2 separate regions of the Homo sapiens genome follow, and region 2 is linked to region 1. Evidence: promoter capture Hi-C in human tissues and cell types (Jung and others, 2019). All regions are on one chromosome and are shown on one strand. The core of a region is centred on a gene start or on the middle of the fragment in contact, and the rest is flanking DNA. Distances in the headings are between cores, read along the strand shown.

Region 1 (4,051 bases), core at 1,105-3,604:
GGCCTGAGCAATGTGACTGTGTGACTGTCACACATTGTGTGTCTGACAGTGTACATGTGTACGAAATGGGATGTCTCTATAATGAGGCACGTGTGTGACTGCATATGTGCATGACTGTGGATGAGTGTGCATGCATGTAATCATGTGTCTGATAGTACATGTGACTGTGTGTGCGCATGTGTGTGTGTGCGTGCCTGCCAGTTTGTGTCTGTATGAAAGTATTTGAATTGTGTGAACAGGTGTGATTGTGGGAGCATGTTATGAGTGTGAGTGTATGTGAGTGTGCTTGTGATTGTGTGCCCATGGGAAGGTCTGTTTGTGTGTGAGTACCTGTGCACGTGAGAGTGTCTGAGCGAGCGAGCGAGCGTGTGTGCAACTTGCATAAATCTGTCTGGCACCAGCAAAGTGGCTCAACTGTCTTTAGAGACAGAGGTCCCTTCCCTCCTGTTGGGGACCTCTTGACCTGCTCCCTCCCCTCCAGCTTCACCCCTGTCCAAGGAGGCTGCTCCTGATCCCAGGATTCTACTGGATGGGGGGTTGGGGAAGGGTGTCACCTCCTTTCCTTTATAGGCATGACCAGGCATGGCCCCCACCACTTATGCCCACATCCCACAGGGCAGGATGTAGTCACATGGACACGCCATGCAGTCAGGGGGCCTGGGAAACATTCTCTCTCTTTAGGTGAGAGCTCTGGGGAAGAAGGGCTGAATGGACATTGGTGGACACTGGCTGTCCTGGCACAGCTGCCCAGGTGCTCTGCAGAGTAGATATTTGTGAAACATTAAGAAGGCCCTGGTGGCCAGGTGCGGTGGCTACACCTGTAATCCCAGCACCATGGAAGGTTGAGGCGGGTGGATCACCTGAGGCCACGAGGTGGAGACCAGCCTGGCCAACATGGTGAAAACCCATCTCTACTAAAAATACAGAAAATTAGTCGGGAGTGGTGGTGCATGCCTGTAACCTCAGCTACTTGGGAGGCTGAGGCAGGAGAATCGCTTGAACCCGGGAGGCAGAGGTTGCAGTGAGCCAAGATCACGCTATTGCACTCCAGTCTGGGCAACAAGAGCCAAACTCCGTCTCTCTCTCTCTCTCACACACACACACAAAAGGCCCTGGAGACAAAGGAACACTCCTTGTCCTTTTCTCCTGGCACAGCACAAGATTCTGTTGCTACATCTTTATTTACTGAGCATCTAGTATGTGCTGCACCTGGCACTGTTTTGTCTTTTTTGTTTTGAGACAAGGTCTTGCTCTGTAGGCCTGGCTGGAGTGCCATGGTACCATCACAGCTCACTGCAGCCTGGAACTCCTGGGCTCAAACAATCCCCCCACCTCAGCCTCCCTACTAGCTGTGGTTACACTTGCGCACCACCACGCCCGGCTAATTTTTTAAATTTTTCTGTAGAGACGGGGTCTTACTACATTGCCCAGGCTGGTTTTGAACTCCTGGCCTCAAGTGATGCTACGGACTTGGCCTCCCAAAGTGCTGGGATTCCAGGCACAAGCCACTGTGCCTGGTAGTGGACATTGTTAGCAGTGACTAAAGCAGAGAACGAGAAGGGGGAGGCCGCTGTAAACACATGAAGACAGGCAGCGTAAGAGAAAGTCACGAGGGCAGGAATAACATCCAGGCATACTTCAGATCCCAGCTCAAGAAACCACTCCCAGGCCAGGCGCGGTGGCTCACGCCTGTCATCTCAGCACTTTGGGAGGCCAAGGCGGGCGGATCACAAGGTCAGGAGTTTGAGACCAGCCTGGCCAACATGGCGAAACCCCGTCTGTACTAAAAATACAAAAGATTAGCCGGGCGTGGTGGCGGGCGCCTGTAATCCCAGCTACTCGGGAGGCTGAGGCAGGAGAATCGCTTGAACCTGGGAGGCAGACGTTGCAGTGAACTGAGATCGCACCATTGCACTCCAGCCTGGGTGACAGAGCAAGACTCCCGTCTCAAAAAACGAAAGAAAAGAAAGAAACCACTCCCAGACTCCCTGCCTGGGCGGGATCCTTTGATCAAGCCCTCAACATGCCTTGGGGCTCTCTTCACAATGGTAAGTTTGCATTTGTTTGTGTGATTCTAGGCCTCCTCTTATTTTCTTGAACAGGCCTCATCTGGCTTTGTTCATCTTTATGTCTCCAGCATCCAGCACAATCCCTGCCATTAGGGTCATGGCTTCATAAAAACGTCACGAATGCAACGCAGAAGTGCATGCATGCATGAATAAATGAATGATGCATGAAAAGAGCAATCTCCCTGTCCTGGAAGCAGCTTCCCCTAGGGGTGGGGGTGGGGTGCGGAGGCAGGGGCAGCCAGTGATGTCACAAGAGGTGGCTGGGATGGAACGTTCTGGAAGGTTGAATGGGGTAGAAGGCCTGTTGTGGAGGGAAACCACCCATCCTCCTGCCTCCCACCACCACCATCATCCTGGCTGGACGGAGAGGGTGACGGGGGCTGGGAAGGGGCAGCTCATGTTCAGGTTTCCAGGAGGGGCTACCTGTTGACTGTCTTTGCAGGAAGAAGAAAACACCTGAGTGACCAGATGTCCCAGCTCCAGGTGCCTTGCCAGATGGCCAGAACCACACCTCTTGAAGAGTGACAGGTGCCAGTGGTATGGGAGAAGGGCATGCGTTTTCTTTTCTTTTTTTTTTGAGACAGGGTCTCACTCTTTTGCCCAGGCTATAGTGCAGTGGCACGATCTCAGCTCACTGCAACCTCTGCCTCCCAGGCTCAAGTGATACTCCCACCTCAACCTCCCAAGTAGCTGAGATTACAGGCGCCTGCCACCATGTCCAGCTAATTTTTTTTTTTTTTTTGAGACAGAGTCTTGCTCTGTTGCCCAGGCGCAATCTCGGCTCACTGCAAGCTTCGCCTCCCAGGTTCACACCATTCTCCTGCCTCAGCCTCCTGAGTAGCTGGGACTACAGGTGCCTGCCACCATGCCCGGCTAATTTTTTGTATTTTTTAGTAGAGATGGGGTTTCACCACATTAGCCAGGATAGTCTCAATCTCCTGACCTCGTGATCCACCCGCCTTGGCCTCCCAAAGTGCTGGGATTACAGGCGTGAGCCGCCATACTCGGCCTAATTTTTATATTTTTAGTAGAGATGGGGTTTCGCCATACCAGCCAGGCTGGTCTTGAACTTCTGACCTCAGGTGATCCACCCGCCTCGACCTCTCAAAGTGCTGGGATTATAGGCACGCGCCACCATGCCCAGCTAATTTTTGTATTTTTAGTAGAGATGGGGTTTCACCATGCCAGCCAGGCTGGTCTCGAACTCCTGGCCTCAAGCGATCCACCCGACTCAGCCTCCCAAAGTGCTGGGATTACAGGTGTGAGTCACCACATCTGAACCCTACATGGCCTTTTAAAATTGTGAAACATATAATGCATATAAAATAACACAAAGCATATCTGTACGATTTAATGAATAACGATAAATATCTGTGTGCCCTTTTCACTTCGTGAAATCGAATATTACTAGTAACTTACAAGTCCTCTGTAGAGAACTCCTGAGCTCAAGTGATCCACCTGCCACGGCCTCCCAAAGTGCTGGGATCACAGGTGTGAGCCTCCGCACCCGGCCGATCGTGTGATTTTTAACGTGCAGTTCCCTGATGACCAAAGCTACTGAGCATCTTGTCCAGGATTTGTAGCCCTTTCCAGGCTCCTTTTTTGTGAACTGCCTGTTTACATTTTTCATCATAAAACACTGGGTTGTTTACATTTGTCTTTTAAATCCAGAGTTCTTTTCATACTCCGGATACTAATTTTATTTGCCCATTTTGCATTGCCATAAAGTAATACCTGAAGATGGGCAATTTATAAAGAAAAGAGGGGCCTGGTGTGGTGGCTCACACCTGCAAATCCCAGCACTTTGGGAGGCCGAGGTGGCGGGGTTGGGGGGGGGGGGGGGGCTTGCTTGAGGCCAGGAGTTCAAGACCGGCCTGGGCAATATAGCGAGGCCCCCAGCTCTACAAAAATAAAAATAAAAATAAATTAGCCAGGCGTAGTGGCATGCTTCTGTAGTCCCAGCTATCTGAGGGGAAGAGAGT
Region 2 (3,703 bases), core at 45-2,544, 170 kb before region 1:
TATTTCTATAACTTTCAACTGGTCTCATGGAGATTATGGGGACACACTTTTTGGAGCTGATGATATCCTACATTTTATGTACTTCTTTCTGGAATGCTCATCATCTTGGCATTACCTTCAACTACCGAACTCCAAGCCAACTTCCAACCACTCTCATCTCACCACCAGATACTTACACTTCCAACAAGCATTGCAGGGGCAACAGGCATTTGTTAAAAGGCCTTTACTGGACTCCGAGGTAGGTACTTTACATATCTAGTCTCATTCATCATAGACGCATCCCCATGACATCCTCCTCATATCCCACTCCACCCCATGAGGGCCAAGCCACATTCTGCCTTCTTTATTTCTACCTTTATCAGCCCTGCAGCCAAACCCTTCTAAGCTTCCACTCCTGCGCCACCCAGACCGTAAGCCCCGGGGGGCAGAACTTGCACTTCTGAACAGAAACCCCATAAAGTTATACAAAGTCAGCAACTCTGCCTACAACTGTATGGATGGCTGGGTTCAGTGGCTCATGCCTGTAATCCCAGCACGTTGGGAGGCCGAGGCATGTGGATCACTTGAGGAAAGGAGTTTGAGACCAGCCTGGGCAACATGGTGAAATCGTGTCTCTACCCAAAATACAAAAATTAGCTGGGCCTGGTGGGATATGTAATCCCAGCTACTCGGGAGGCTGAGACCCAAGCATCACTTGAACCCAGGAGGTGGAGGTTGCAGTGAGCTGAGATAGCACCACTGCACTCCAGCCTGGGCGACAGAGTGAGACTCTGTCTCCAAAAAAAAAGAAAAGAAAGAAAAAAGAAAAAACTGCGTGGAGAGATGGAGGATCCAGCTTTAACGGCACTTTTCTGTTCCGCCACTAGGTGGTGTGACACCAACACAGCTGAGGCAACATGCAAGTGGCTGAAGACTCGGGAAAGTTCCAGTAGAGACAACAGGAATCCCCTCCTCTCTACACGGAAGCTTACAGGAAGGAAATCCAAGAACTACAGAATTTATGCTGAGGCAGCAGAGCAAAACTGATGATACTGGAGAGCGCGGGCTCTGGTCTTTGTGTGTGTTCAAACCTGCCCTGGCCACTTACTTGCGGTTGGGATCCCAGATAAGACAATGTACCTCTGGCACAATGTCTTCATTTGCATATCAGGGCTGTTATTTCACCCCAGGCAGCTTCGGCAAGGATGAAATGAAATGCTGCACATGCCGTGTTTGGGGAAGTGGTTGGCACACAGGATGATTCCACACTGGCACTGGTAGCATTATTATGCTCGGAAGATTGCAAACATATTGATGCCACCTTAAAGCATAGGCCTTGGATTCAAGGACAGCTGCCAGTGCCCGGCAACGACAAATGCGTCAGAGTCTGACCCCTTTTAGGGGGTGGAATGGTTGGATCCAAGAGCTGCCTGGACGCCTGGGACACTCAAGGCAAACGCTCAGGTGCTCGGAATGCCTGAGCCCTTCTGAGGTCACAGGAAACAGGTGGGATCTGAAGGCAGGCCGAGCCGAGCAGCCAAGCCTTGCTCTCACCAGCAGGATCTACCAAGCACAGACTTGTGCTAGGCACCGAGCTTGCCACTGGAGACAGGAAAGAAATGGCAGACAAGGCCGCAGCTCTCTACTGGGAAAGAGAAAACAAACAAGTACCTGCTGTGTGCAGAGATAACTGGGTAGTTCTGGAGCTGGGTGCTGCAGAGAAAATACCACAGGATGGTGGGAGAGAGTGAGTGAATGGGTAAGGCCTCGCTGAAGCTCACACATGAAGGGTGAGCAGGGATGAGCCAGGTGAAGGCAGGGGATCCCAGGCAGAGGGGACCCCAAGTCAAAGGTTCTAAGGAAAGGAAGAGCCTGGAGGCCCATGTTTGGAGGGGAGGAGAACGGGAAGGGCTGGGTGGAGCCCACAGGACGTTCAGCCTTGCAGGCCATGCTGACAAATCTGGATTTATCCAGTGTAAAGGTTGGGGCCCAGGCTCTGGACTCTTAGGACCCAGTGGCCATCACCATCAATGCTGCAAAACATCCTCTCTCCTCTGAGCAGAGGGTAACTGCCTGTTTTCTCACCCTCTCCCCCAGAGAAAGGCAAGTTCTCAAGGACCGTTTCCACTCACGCTCTGCTCTCACAGATGCAACGCAGGAATTAATTCTGGGTAAATAAGTTCCCAAAATTCTCTGTGGCAAACCTGGGGGAGTTTAATTTAGCAAAGGCATTTTAAACTTACTGCAAAAGGCAAGGCCTGCCTTCTAAACATGTGTATGGAGTAACTACTACTGTCTCTAGAATTTCCTCCCTTTCTTTGAACACCATAAACAGCGACAGCGAAATGCAGTGCCCTACGCGGGTCAGTTTTCAGGGGTGAACGAGTGCCCATTACCTAGAGTTTACTGACTCACCGGGAAGGACAAGCATGAACTCCTAGACTCCATGGCTGGAGACAGGCGCACTGGCCCTAGCCAGCCCTACCTGCTTCCATGGCCTCGGGCTTCAGCCCCTGTGAAATGGTGCAGCCAGGACTCAGGCATCCCTGAAGGTTCTTCCCAGCCCTTACATTCTGTCAGGTCCTCACCCTGGACCAGAGGCAGTGTTAAAGGTCAAGGAAAAGACTGTTCTTCCTGAAGAGGGATATGATGTCCATTGAGGCCTACTCAGCTGCCAAAAGGCCAGAATAGAAAAATAAGGTTGGGAGGAAGGGCCTTAAACTCTAGCTGGCAATTAATTTATTCCTGGGTAGGTTCCTTTGATCCTATGACCAGTGGTTCTCACCCAGGAGTAACTTCATCTCCCTGGAGACACTGGTCAAAATCTGGAGACATTGTGACTGTCATGTTTGTGGGGGTGTGGAGGAAACTGTTACAGACATCTAGTGGATGGAGACCAGGGATGCTGACCAACATCCTAGGAGGCTCAGAACAGTGCCCTACCAGCAAGTGACCCAAGTCCAAATGTCAACTGAGCTGAGGGCAAGAAACCTTGCATTAATCTTGGGCAAAAAAATTGAGCTGGATCTCTAACTCACATTATACACCAAAATAAATCCCCAATAGATTAGATGGCACAAACCAGGGTGACCCCCCACCCTGGCTTCTGGGATTCACCGCCTCTCTCCCTCCCCACTCAGACTGTGGCTTTAAATGTGTACAGGCTCCTACGACCTCAGTAGGTTAGATAACTATGGAACACAAAGTCTCTTGGGTGTCAATGAAATCCCATAACCCAATGGTTCTCAAGTGGGGGCAATTCTGACATTAAGGGGACACTGGACAGTGTCTGGAGACCTTTTATCTTCTCATGACTGGGAGTGGATGGGTGGGATGACTGGGTGCTATGGCATCACATGAGTAGAGGCTAGAGGGGCTACCCAACATCCTCCAAAGCACAAGATGGCCACCACCAGCCCCAATGTCAAGAATACTGAGGTGGAAAAACCCTGGTATAACTCACAGGGTGCTTTCTCTCTACTCAGGCATCCAATTAGGAGAATCACAGCTAGAAGTAACTGACATGTATCTCCACATTCCAGTAGGTCAATTACCAGAAGTATATTCTCTCTCACACCACAATCCTCAGACTTGCGTATCATCGTTCCCATTTTACAGATGCAAGAGCTAAGGTCAGACAACTTGCCCATGTTTCTAGGGCAGAAGGCAAGACACAAACCAAGGACAGCCAATCCAGGTGCTTCCAACCATGCCACAAGTTGCC

What was found. The method cuts DNA at HindIII sites, captures the fragments that hold promoters and counts their contacts. A contact is called where the count stands out against the background at its distance.
Region 2: a fragment that was not itself captured here is called in contact with the fragment with the promoter of ACSBG2 in region 1 in 2 of the 25 tissues and cell types used here (lymphoblastoid cells and pancreas).

What each region holds. Positions count from the first base shown.
Region 1 is chr19:6,133,313-6,137,363 of GRCh38, forward strand. It overlaps ACSBG2 (acyl-CoA synthetase bubblegum family member 2), which reads left to right and starts at 2,355. Exons shown (of 15, transcript NM_030924.5): 1 at 2,355-2,597. The region is part of intron 3 of LOC105372255 (a long non-coding RNA gene); the gene reads right to left. RefSeq lists enhancers at 1,319-2,222, 2,223-3,125. The HindIII fragment of the contact is 13,898 bases long and covers 1-3,963 here.
Region 2 is chr19:5,967,240-5,970,942 of GRCh38, forward strand. The region is part of intron 1 of RANBP3 (RAN binding protein 3); the gene reads right to left. Among named protein-coding and RNA genes, the nearest start is that of RANBP3, 9.0 kb to the right of the region's middle. RefSeq lists an enhancer at 739-1,033. The HindIII fragment of the contact is 6,212 bases long and covers 1-3,703 here.